Regions from separate parts of the Homo sapiens genome. Here all the other regions are linked to region 4. The links are contacts of gene promoters, found by promoter capture Hi-C in blood cells and fetal thymus (Javierre and others, 2016). All regions are on one chromosome and are shown on one strand. Each heading gives the region's core, a stretch centred on a gene start or on the middle of the fragment in contact. The rest is flanking DNA. Distances are from core to core; before and after follow the strand shown. Region 1 has its middle 250 kb from the start of SLC24A2. Region 2 has its middle 180 kb from the start of SLC24A2. Region 3 holds the start of IFNA2 (interferon alpha 2). Region 4 holds the start of MLLT3 (MLLT3 super elongation complex subunit).

Region 1 (3,078 bases), core at 541-3,040, 580 kb before region 4:
TAGTGTTTAAAGATTTTGGTGCTATTAAAAATCTTGGTGCTATGTTTTGTTGTAATAAATAGAACAAAAATAGGTATATGGGAGAAGTTTGAGAGACATTTTGCTCTAAGGAATGTGAAAAGCAGCCAGAGAAACTCATGCTAATGCTAATATGGTTCAGAATGATTCCAGCTTTAGGGTGGGAAGGAGGGCTGGTTAAGATGGAATAATGAATCAAATGGTGGTTATGCTGTTGCTAGGACTTCTGAGCTTACAGCAAGATACCAGAGGGTCTTGCTGGCTCTATCCCAATGTGCGTCACCCATTTCTTTTCAACCCCCACCAAATGACCGAGGCAAAAATGCCTTCAAGGGCAGGAATCTGAGTTCCCATTGGCTCTACTTTTCCAAGATCCACTTCTAGACTTATTCTTTGTGGCTACATAGAAATACATGAATTAAGTTCTGAGGTTCTAAGTGGTTGCAGAACTAGCTGGGATTGCCCACAGTCATTCATCAGTGAAGATGCATCATGGCTATTTACAATTATTTTTCCTTCTGGAAAGCTAACCCAGGGAAGGGAAAGGACAGCACAGCCCCAGAGCCTACACAAGCTGCTTTCCACATGTATTTTGTAGTTTTAATCCTCACAACAAGCCTAAGAGTTGAGCCGTTTGTCTACCTGTGGCAGACAAGGGTTAGAAGCTTAATAATTTTCTATGGGTCACACAACCTATATGAAGGGGAGACAGGACCTGTGCACAGATCTGTTTAATTCCTAACGTAATGCTTTTATTCTCTCCTAAAAAGGGCAGCTCTGCTAATTACAGGCTCTGAATTTTTTTTAGGACATCGACTTTCTTTTAAAGAAGCAATGTCTAAAAATAAAGCAGGTTAACCTGTGTGCTTGCATATGAGAATGAGGAGAGAGAAAGAGAGAGAGTGCGTGTGTGTACGCGTGCGCGCGTGCGCACGTGTGCGCGCAGAAGCATGCATGAGAAAAAGAAAGAGAGATAGGGAGGTATTTCTTCTTTCATATACAAAGCAGCAGCCCCTCCTCTGTCTTTTTCATTCCAGTGTAATCTATGCACATGCAAAATAATTACTTCTTCCTGTAGGAAGTGTCAGTCCTCCAAGCAAAGAAGAAAAGGCTACAGCATATGTTACCGACACATGTTTTTGCTAGTCTTGTCTCTGTTCCGCCTGCTGTGGCAATCAGCTTTTGCAAATACTGTCACTTACCAAATACAAAAAGCATGTGCATGCCCAGCCAATGGCCTGGGATAAACACAGCCAGGCTTTCTGACTTGGAACATCCACCCAGGACAGGGGTTTTGTTTCCAAAGAACAAAACCAGCCTTGTATCATCAAAATCAGTGGTGGGGAGGGAGAGAGGGCAGTTACGATAGAGGAAAGACATGGACCCAACCCAACAAACTGCTTCAGGGTCTGCCTCATACATATGAAGGAAAATTGATAGTATTTGATAGGAGGTCTGCTCAATTCAGCCAAAGGAAAGATGGGCAGGGCTCAAAAACACTGCTGGAGAAGTTGGTATCTGGCCAAATGGCTAAGTAGCCAGTCGGGGGTCTAAGAAGCACATGCACAGAAGGGCTTTGAGCTCTGCCTCTTGGCAGGATGCCCACCCATCAAGTTCTTCCAGAGTGGGGAGTTGGCAATGCGCACTCCTAATCCCAGAAGCACTTGACAGGTAGGCTTGCTGCCGAGAGCCCCCCTTTCTGTCCCCTCAGGTGCCAGACTCTGCACTGTGGCCGCAGCAGCTACAAGCGCTACCATGAGACAAAGGAGAAGAGTCTGGCACCTGTGGTGGGGAGCCTGTCATCTTGTGGTGGGACATTTGCCTGGTACTTCCTGGCCTGGCAAATGTGCCACTGAGGGGAGCACTGTCCCTGGTGGGCAGACTGTGGCAGGAATTGGCTGGGGTCAAGAGGGCACAGCTCTGGAGATCTCCAACCTGCCATGAGTCCAGCACTTTCCAGAAGGCAGCCTCTAAGTATATTTAAATAATAAGCAGGAAGAAATGGTGGACATTTGTGGTGTCTAGGGAAAGGAAAAGAACAACTTCACTTAAAGATACAGTCACAAGAGAGAAATCTGAACTGAGTGTACACCCCTGAGGAACTCTGGAATATCTGAGAAAGCATCAAGGATTTCATTTGCATAAGGACATCTGAGCCTTCTGGAAGAAATGTTATAGAGGACTTTTAGAGCTGACAGCTTGATTCTGCAATCCTAGATCTAAGATTTCTGAAGTAAGAATGAAAACCAAAGTTATCTAACCCTAGGGGACTGAGTCATGGGAGAAAGCACCCACCAAGGTAGGGGTGAGAGGACATGGCCTTCCTTCTGGGTCCTAGGCCTTATTGCTAAGGGACATGTTCATTTATCCTTCCAATATTCTCCTTTTCAGTAGCAGAGAATGCAGGCATACCTCCTTTTATTGTGCTTTGCTTTATTGCACTTTGCAGGTAGTGTGTTTTTTACAAATTGAAGGTTTGTGGCAACAATATCTATGTGCCATTTTTCCAACAGCATGTGCTCACTTCATGTCTCTGTGTCATGTTTTGATAATGCTTGCAATATTTCAAACTTTTTCATTATTATTTTATCTGTTGTGGTGGTCTGTGACCAGTAATCTTTGATGTCACTATTTTAATTGCTTTGAGGCACCACAAGCCATGCCCATGTAAGATGGAAAACTTAATTGATAAATGTTATGTGTATTTTAATGGCTCCAATGACTGGCTTTTCCCCATTTCTCTCCTTCTCCTTGGGTCTCCCTATTTCCTAGACACGATATGGAAATTGGACCAATTAATAACCCTACAATGGCCTGTAGGTGTTCAGGTGAAAGAAAGAGTCACACACCTTTCACTTTAATTCAAAAGCCACAAATGATTAAGCTTAGTGAGGAAGGCATGTCGAAAGCTGAGACACGCCAAAAGCTAGGGCTCTTGCACCAGTTAGCAAAGGTATAAATGTAAAGGAAATGTTCTTGAAGGAAATTAAAAGTGCTACTCCAGTGAGCAAAAGAACGAAAAGAAAGTGAAACAAACTTATTACCTATATGGAGATATAC
Region 2 (2,944 bases), core at 427-2,926, 650 kb before region 4:
TGTATGTGTAAGTGAACAAACTGGTTTTTAATTCTTAGCAAACTGCTCATTCCCCAACAGATGAAGTGTCTCTTAATCTATGCCAGTGCTCTTTAGTCAGAATTGGTCTTCTGAGTCTATATTTTGCCCCCTATCACTTTGCTTTCATAAAGAGCATCACAGAAGCTTATTCATTAGCATTCAGAGTCAGTCTCTAATGTAGGGGTAGCTCTGATGCAATTTACGTTTAGTTCTTTCCATGCTTCCAGTTCTTTATATCAAGCCCTCCTGTTAGCTCTGAGGATAAGTGAGCCAATTGGAAAAGGTTTTGAGCCCTTAGCAAATCTCATCATAAGATATATCCAAACACTGTAATCTGAATGCAATCTTCATTAAGAATTTCCACCACCTGCTTGCTGAAGCCACAGCACAGCTCCACTCATAATCACCATGCAGGGGGCAGCATTAGTTAATGTCATTAGACAAATGTTGCCATCTCCTTGTGCATGTTCATTAGCACCAGGTGGGAAAATACAGGCATGGAAATTTTGGGTTGATTCAGGCTTGGACATTATTTATTCAGCTAACTTTCTGAGCATCCTTGAAAAACCAAAAAGGTTGGATTTGAAATAACTTTTTTAAAAACATACTTCAGGGGCAGTGTCAGAGTTCAACTTCACTAATGGAAGTAGAGGGTTACTTTCCCAGAGGTATGGCATTGGGTAAGTTGCTTACTCTCTTGGTTTCCCCACCTATAAAATAGGGAGGATAATTTTATCTACCTTATAGGGTTTGTATTCAGATTAAATGAGTTGATACAAATAAAGCACTTTGAACAGAGCCTGGTTTGTTTTCATCATCATAATCTTCATCATCATCTTTGTTATGCTAACTCTGCTTTCCATTGTTCATCTGAGCACACCAGGGAGCCCACAGGGACCCACATGGGCCACAGAGAGTAATTTGACTCTGAAACACAGCAGCTTTTGTTTTCTTTTCTTTTTAACCTACATCCTTGGAGCACTTACTAAGTGCCAGTCACTATGCTAAACTGTTTGCAAACATTTTCTCATGCAAACCTCACAACAAGGCTAACAAGATAGATACAAAACTGTATTACAATTTCCATTTTATAGATGAGGAAATTGGAATTTGGAGAAGTTAATTTGCTTATAGAAATAAGGTCCACAGACTCTAAGAAGTGGATAGACTTGTATTTCATACTAACTTTGTTTTAGGTGTTATATTGACCTCAAGACCAATTATGAAACAAATATTTAGAGCTGGAAAGCCTTTCCCATTCATGTAGTGCACATGTAGGAGTTAAGACTTAGAGAAGTTAAGGACTTCACCCAAGGTCACACAGCCAGCTGTGACTAGCTGGCATCAGAACATTTACAGAGGTCCTTGGCCCTCTAATGCTCTGCTTTTTCTCTATATATTATTTTACGTCATTAACAGATTGCTCCAAATGTGAAAATATTCAAACTGTGCATTCATCTCAAGGCATGAGTTTCTGCAGCAAGGAAATCATTTATATAAATGGAAAATTAACTGAAGGGAGAAAAGAAATACTTGGGATAGGTTTTTGAAATTTAAACACAATTGCTTAAGTAACATCTTAAAAGATGGCATTAAAGTCATACCCCAGAAGCCACAAATATGATAATAAAAGGTTTACAGTGGCTGTTCTACCAGACATTCTTCAATCCCATTTTCTTTCCAGTGTTTATAACTAGCACGGAACTGAGGCAATTAAGAACAGCTTTCTTTCAGCTTCTCTAAGGCTTCTTGTGTTTTAAACCTGAATTCCTGAGGCCAGGGAGGAAAAGGGAATTCCCTAACCTCTGCGTCCGCCACCTCCTTTGCCACACACACACACACACACACACACACACACACACACACACACTTCTTCCTCCCAGAATGAAGAATTTCCTTCATTCTTTTCCTTTTTCATCTCTTCTGTCTCACAGCCTCCACTCCCTCCCCCAAAACCTAAACTTCAGAACTTGGCTCAGTGACATTCCCTCAAGATCAAAGTTAAATGATAATTTCCATAAAAACCAAAGTCATTTCAGTCTCACTATCTCTCTGAAAGTCTGAGTCTCATGCCAATAAAGCACAAAAAAATTCCACACTCCCTTTCTCTTCAATATGAAAGTCCATGCTCCCTCTTCCTTTCTTCTGGTGTCTCTTCACTCCTCACACATTACTGCTTTTCTGCAGAGATGTCCACAGTAAGTTCCACCTTCTAATTTAAGATTTAGCTACTTCCAGTGCCTCTTTTTCTCTCCTGGATAGGCAATGCCTGTGAGGATTGAGGCTACAGTAGTAAGAAAAGAACCAAGAAGCAAGGCGGTAGAAAGTTGGAAGACAGAGAGAGAGAGCAGTGATGAAGAGGGGATTGTAGGAAATTCACATAATTACTTCAAATATTAAAGATCATAGAGCTTGTAAGTGACTTGGTTAAAATACTAACTCAAGGCTTTTTGACCTGAGTCAAACAAAATCCAATTGTTGAGAATATCATAACAAAAGGGATGAAGACTGGTCCCAATAGGAGTTATGAGCTATACTAGGGATTGCAATATAAAGTGTCTGTGCAAGAGTGTGAGTCAGTGACATAAATATGGGGAAGAGTGGGAGAGACTACAGGACATCATGATACCACCTTTACATATTTCTGTGGCCTTGCTTCACACATCTTCAGAAGGAATCCTCTACCTGACCTTATTCAGCACAAATAATGGGCTGAGAGCAACAGCAAGCAAGCTGCAGTCTGGACAAGGCCCCTTCCCTTCTCACTGCCCCCATCACCCCTCCACGCATAACCACAGATATGACCAGGTAGCTCCTTTATTGCAAGGTGAATGAGGAGGTTCTGATTTTCCCCTGAAAGTGGAAGGGAACCCTTTCTGAAATCACTGATATTTTTCAGGAATCCTTCCACAAAGTCACTAAC
Region 3 (2,932 bases), core at 383-2,882, 760 kb after region 4:
GTTGCCTTCTAATGTACAGCCATTCCTTTGTGGCTGTGGATGTTTCCTTTGCGGCTTTTCTCTCCCCTCCCTTTAAAAGCGAAAGGTCCTCAGAATCATGTTTAAAACTTTTTCTCTCTCTACACTCTCTCCCAACACCATGACCTTCATTTCTTGGCTTTCTCTTATCACATATAAACCCCCAGCAATCGCATTCCTTGCAAATTGCAAACTTATATATCTAACTGGCAATGGACATTTTCTAATAGATGTATACTAGTCAATTTAAAGAGAATGTCTCTGTCTTATTTTTATTTCCTCACATGCCTCAATCTACCTTCTGCAGAGAGAAATCATCGGTTGTTCCTTCTTCTCTTCATACCATTTACCATAACTGATAATTAAGTATGATTACCATTTTTAGTTTTTTTCATACAAAAATCAAATACACAAGAGAGCAGAATTGTATTTGTTAGGTTCACCTTGTTATCTTGAGTACAACATACAACCTGGTTTACAGAAAGTTTATTTTTACTTATATCTTGAATATAATATTGATGGATAAATGAAGTGTACCAGTTATTCTGTAATCAGGTTGCACAATTAGGCTTGGAATTTCATTTTAAAGAATAAACAAGTACAAAAGTTTCCATAGCAAAAGTTCAATGAACAACACAAAATAAATTTACCAAATACAAAGAACATATTTTATTACATTAACCACTGTGCAAAGGTGCACATGACATAATATGAACAAAAATAAGTTGTTTTATAAATAGTTAAATAAATAATATTTTAAAAATATTTAAATAGATAATGGATCAGTCAGCATGGTCCTCTGTAAGGGACTAGTGCCTTAAGAGCTGAATACAATGTTGATTAATACTCCTAAAAACATTTGAAAAGATTTAAATCGTGTCATGGTCATAGCAGAAACATGAGTCTTTGAAATGGCAGATCATAAAAAGGTGAGCTGGCATACGAATCAATGAAAATCATTTCCATGTTGAACCAGTTTTCATTCCTTACTTCTTAAACTTTCTTGCAAGTTTGTTGACAAAGAAAAAGATCTCATGATTTCTGCTCTGACAACCTCCCAGGCACAAGGGCTGTATTTCTTCTCTTTCAGATAGAGAGTGATTCTTTGGAAGTATTTCCTCACAGCCAGAATGGAGTCCTCCTTCATCAGGGGAGTCTCTGTCACCCCCACCCCCTGTATCACACAGGCTTCCAGGTCATTCAGCTGCTGGTAGAGTTCAGTGTAGAATTTGTCTAGGAGGGTCTCATCCCAAGCAGCAGATGAGTCCTTTGTGCTGAAGAGATTGAAGATCTGCTGGATCATCTCATGGAGGACAGGGATGGTTTCAGCCTTTTGGAACTGGTTGCCAAACTCCTCCTGGGGAAATCCAAAGTCATGTCTGTCCTTCAAGCAGGAGAAAAGAGAGATTCTCCTCATCTGTGCCAGGAGCATCAAGGTCCTCCTGCTACCCAGGCTGTGGGTTTGAGGCAGATCACAGCCCACAGAGCAGCTTGACTTGCAGCTGAGCACCAGGAGGGCCACCAGTAAAGCAAAGGTCAAGGCCATTGTAGATGTTGCAGATGCTGCTAGACTGGTTGAAATGGGTGAGCCTAAACCTTAGGCTCCAGGTTCTCTGAAGACCTTGCTTTGTGCCTAGCCTTAAATAGGGAACATACTCGTTTACATTTTCCAAATGCCCCTGTGTTACTTTCTACTTCTCTTTTTGCTTTCTTTATGCACTCTTTACATGGGTTTTCAGCTGTTTTTCTCACCACATTTTTTTCATTATTGTTTCCTTCCTCTTTTACCCCAGAGCCTTTTTAGAAACTTTTTTCTGATTGAATCTCCCATTATATTTTAATCACATATACACTGTGTATCTATTTACATATCCTATGTATATCTCTATTCTATACATTAAATTAAAAAGTATAAAGTTAATGTTTTATTATTGCAAAGAATGATAAAACAATTAAAAATTAAATTAAAAGGCTATTGACATTTTACTTAACTTGATAACTATATTCTTAGAGCAACTTTTTTGAAAATAGATTTTTGTGGGTACATAAGAGGCGTCTGTGTTTATGGAATAAGTGAAATATTTTTATATAGGCAGACAATTCATAATAATCACAGCAGGGTGAATGGAGTATCCAATGCTTCAAACATTTATCATTTCTCTCTGCTACATACATCCCATTTATACTATTTTAGTTATTTTATAATATATAATAAATTATCATTAACAGTAGTCATCCTATTGTGCTATCGAATACTAAATCATATTCATTTTTTCTAACTATATTTTTGTGCCCGTTAGCCATCTCCATTTTCCCCCATATGATCCAGCAATCCCACTACTGGGTATTTATCCAAAGGAAATGAAATCAGTATGTCAACAAAATATTTACACTCCCATGTTTATTGCAGCACTATTCACAATAGCTAAGATTTGGAAGCAACTTAGGTGTCTAACAGATGAATGGATAAAGAAAATATGGCACTTATACACAATGGAGTACTACTTAGCCATAAAAAAGAATGAGATCCTGTCATTTGCAAGAACATGGATGGAGCTGGAGGACATTATGTTCATTGGACAACATTAAACCCATTGATCTGCACATACCTAACCACACTTGAATCTCTAGGACAAATTCCACTTGGTCATGATGAATGATTGTTTTAATGTGTTCTTGAATTCAGTTTGCTAATTTGTTGTTGAGGATTTCTGCATCAATGTTCATCAGAGATATTGGCCTACAGTTTTCTTTCTTTTTAATGTGTCTTTCTCTGGTTTTATATGTGATTAAAATATAATGGGAGATTCAATCAGAAAAAACACTGGCCTCATAGAATACATTTGGAAAGATTCTGTCCACCTCTATTTTTTTAATAATTTGAGTTGGATTGGTATTAGTTTTTTAAATATTT
Region 4 (3,122 bases), core at 337-2,836:
TTTTCCTCCTTCTTGAAACGCACATAAAAGGAAACGGCGGTGCCCTCTGCATCCACGTTTCACGCGCGTGGGCGCGCACACTCCACACCCCCAAATATACCCGCCCGCCCGGCCCGGCTTGGCCCCAGGCGCCCCGGGCCCCGCATCTACATCGGACAGGATTGTAACGGAATGTTATCCCCAGTCGGGAAGGGGGTCGGGGAAAAGAGGGAGAACACACTCAGCCACGACAAGCACGACAACAAATGCATCGGAAACAAATCAGAAGGCGATGCCGGGGCGGTTTCCCGGCGTGGGAGGGGAGGTGGCTGGGACCCAGGGGGACCGAAGGGCTCCTGGCGAGCCCCCTCCCCGAAAGTACCGCGGCGACAGGCACACGCCGAGGAAGTCTTTGTGTACGTGTGTGTGCGTGCGTGTGGAGCGCTGTGCCAGGCGAAATGGAAACTACAGGCAGCCTCTGCTGATGGGCACAAACTCCCGTGCTCTTGCCACGGGGTTCGTGCACAACAAAAATGAGACGTCGTCATACACACTGAAACACACACACACGCCCGCAGGAAAACACGCCGAGGCATCCATAACTTAGAGCACCCCGCACCCCCCAGCGAAAAGCCCCACGCGATCGGCGAGGCCAGTCGAACCGAGCCCCCGCAACACACTTTCAAGAGCCCAAGTGGCTCCAAAGTATCTCCCACCTCCCCCCAAAAAATGAAATTCAGAAAGGCAGGGCGGCGGGCGGACAGCCGCCGAGCCTCGGCTCGCGCTCAGCACCTCCCGGCGCTGGGGCAAAGTTGCGTGCGGCCCCGCCGCTGTCAGCCCCGCACACTTCGGCTCACACACGCGCGCCGCGGAGAACGCACCATCGTAGCGGCCGCGGCGCTTTGCGGAGGTGCGGCCGCCGAGGCTGCTCGCCGCGTCCCCGGACTGTGCCCGCAGCTCCCGGCGGCGGCGGCTGAAATATGGCTGAGTTATTATTCGCCTCCTTCCACCGTGTGTGTGTGTGTGTGTGAGTGCGCGCGTGTGAGCGAGAGGGAGTGTGTGAGTGCGCTTCTTGTGACTGCAAAGAGGCGAGGAGGGAGGGAGGCGCGGGGGGTGGAGGGGCGAGTGTGAGCGTGTGTGAGTGTGTGTGTGTCTGTGTGTCTGTGTGCGCGCCGGGGGGGGGTGGGGGAGGAGGGGAGCGGAGGCTGAGGGAGAGGCGGCAGCTCCCTGCAAGCCGTACCAACCTTTCTCTAATTGGAACCGCGGAGCGCTGGCGCTGTCTGGGCTGCGGCGGCGCAGGGCGAGGAAGGAAAGTGGGGGAGGGCTTTTATTATTATTTTTGCGCGTACTTACCGAGCTAGCCATGCCTGGGGGCCCGGAGGTTTGCTGGGGTGTTGTGTGGTACCCCCCCCTCCTCCGCCCCCCCTCAGCTGTAATTCATGAAGAGGCTGCTATGAATGAGAGCGCGCCCAGGAGCGGAGGGTAGATGGCGGACATTCTCTGCCTTTTTCCCCCCGCGCTCGCTTGCTCGCTCGCTCGCTTATTAAACTCAGCCCCAAAAGCAAAAGCAGCAGCAGCAGCAGCAGCTCCAGGGTAAAGAAGATGATTGCGGAGCATGCGCCGTGGCGCCTGACACCCGGGCTCCGAGCCTCACAGGGCGGAGGGAGGGCTTGCGGGCGGGGCGGAGCGCGCGGGGAGGCAGAGCGAGCGAGCCAGGGGGAGCTCGAAAGAGCCAATCACCTGCCACCTCCCGAAACCCCGGCGGCCCGCAGCGCCACACTGGAAAGCCTCGCTTAAAGTAACAGGTTCCTGCTGGGGGGGTGGCAGGGAGGGGACGCAGGAGTGGGGAGAGCGGCCAGCTGGGGAGCCATCCCAGCCCCTGTGTAAACTCTGCTCGCCCTACAATAAAAAACGGATTAAAACTGCTGGAATGTAGCCACTGCTTAGAGCCCTCAGCAGCCGGAGAGGGGGTGTTAAATCAAGTCCTTAGCTAGTACGCACGGGGAGGAGGGAGTGGGCTTTCTTTTACTTTCCACCACGTATTTCTGTGGTTTTGTGCTGAAAAGACAAGAACTCACACCCAAACAAACTTACTTAAAGAGAGCGAGAGAAATGCCATCCTGCAAAAAACGAGCATGAAAATAGCAATGACTGAGGCTGTTCTAACCCGCAACGATCCCCTGGCCCCCTGCCCCATCCACTCACAGGCACCCGCCCGCCACCCTCACTCCCCGCCCTTCTGCCACCGCCACCGAAAATTTGAAAATGAAATGAACAAGGGAGAAACAAGGATGCTATTTCCTTGCAAGGGAACGCCTTCCGCTTTGGTAATCCCCGGCTGGGAAGCTTCATAAAGCGGTGCCCAGGTGAAAGCAAGACACCTGGGAGTGCCGGGTACAGACCCTCGGGGACCAGGCTTGGAGTTGTTTTCTTCGGGGGGCTTCCCCTCCTGACAGCCTACTGAGTTGCATCAGAACGTGGAGGATTGTCCTCTGAGGACGCGCGGGGCAACCGGGAGTCTTAAAATAGCAGATAAAGTTAATACTGACTGTAATGTGCGTAAATTGGATTATAATCTTTAGGCGTATTGGTGACAACCAGCGTAATCCATCTCTGAGTATTAATCCGGTTAGACTCCCGGGTGACAGCCAGTCGCAGGAGTGTTCCCAGAGTCGCGCCTCTGCAAATGTTCTCACTCGCGTTGTATTTGATCTCAGTGGCCGGAGATAGAACAGCGCGGCCACGCGTGGGGCGCGGAGAGGAGTATCAACTACTGGCTTCCTTTACAGACGCAGATAACCTTTAAAAAGGAAACGGATAAGATCTAGACGATTGATTTGAAAGTGAAAGATGGATGTGACTTTGGTTCGTTAAAAAAAGATCCTTGCATCTTCCTAGCCCTTAGACCTCTTTTGCCTTCTCTTTACTCCCCTTTTTCCCTCGCCTTCCAACTTCTTGCTGAACCTTGATTTTTCCTTCTCTTCTCCTTGCCTTTCCTCTTTGTCCCTCTTTCTTTCCTCTTTGTCCCTTTCTTTCCTCTTTGTCCCTTTCTTTCCTCTTTGTCCCTCTTCCTCTTTCTGACTGAACTTCCTTGCTTTCCTCTTTTCCCTTTACTTCCCTTTTCCACAAAAGCAAGTTGTCTC

What was found. Contacts are between HindIII fragments. The CHiCAGO score rates a contact against its expected background, and 5 or more counts as called.
Region 1: a contact is called between a fragment that was not itself captured here and the fragment with the promoter of MLLT3 in region 4, in 4 of 17 cell types (non-activated CD4 T cells, total B cells, naive CD8 T cells and 1 more). The highest score is 6.9, in non-activated CD4 T cells.
Region 2: a contact is called between a fragment that was not itself captured here and the fragment with the promoter of MLLT3 in region 4, in 1 of 17 cell types (naive CD4 T cells). The highest score is 5.1, in naive CD4 T cells.
Region 3: a contact is called between the fragment with the promoter of IFNA2 here and the fragment with the promoter of MLLT3 in region 4, in 2 of 17 cell types (total B cells and monocytes). The highest score is 8.6, in total B cells.

Annotation. Positions count from the first base shown.
Region 1 is chr9:20,040,218-20,043,295 of GRCh38, forward strand. It overlaps a transcript of SLC24A2 not described here. Among named protein-coding and RNA genes, the nearest start is that of SLC24A2, 250 kb to the left of the region's middle. The HindIII fragment of the contact is 2,219 bases long and covers 682-2,900 here.
Region 2 is chr9:19,967,336-19,970,279 of GRCh38, forward strand. It overlaps a transcript of SLC24A2 not described here and the pseudogene GLRX3P1. Among named protein-coding and RNA genes, the nearest start is that of SLC24A2, 180 kb to the left of the region's middle. RefSeq lists an enhancer at 335-1,174. The HindIII fragment of the contact is 3,026 bases long and covers 164-2,944 here.
Region 3 is chr9:21,383,766-21,386,697 of GRCh38, forward strand. IFNA2 (interferon alpha 2) reads right to left here and starts at 1,633. Exons shown (of 1, transcript NM_000605.4): 1 at 490-1,633. The coding sequence starts at 1,564. The coding sequence ends at 998. The HindIII fragment of the contact is 9,842 bases long and covers 1-2,932 here.
Region 4 is chr9:20,620,913-20,624,034 of GRCh38, forward strand. MLLT3 (MLLT3 super elongation complex subunit) reads right to left here and starts at 1,587. Exons shown (of 11, transcript NM_004529.4): 1 at 1,333-1,587. The coding sequence starts at 1,344. RefSeq lists silencers at 876-925, 996-1,145, 1,566-2,025, 2,046-2,185. The HindIII fragment of the contact is 2,564 bases long and covers 1-2,323 here.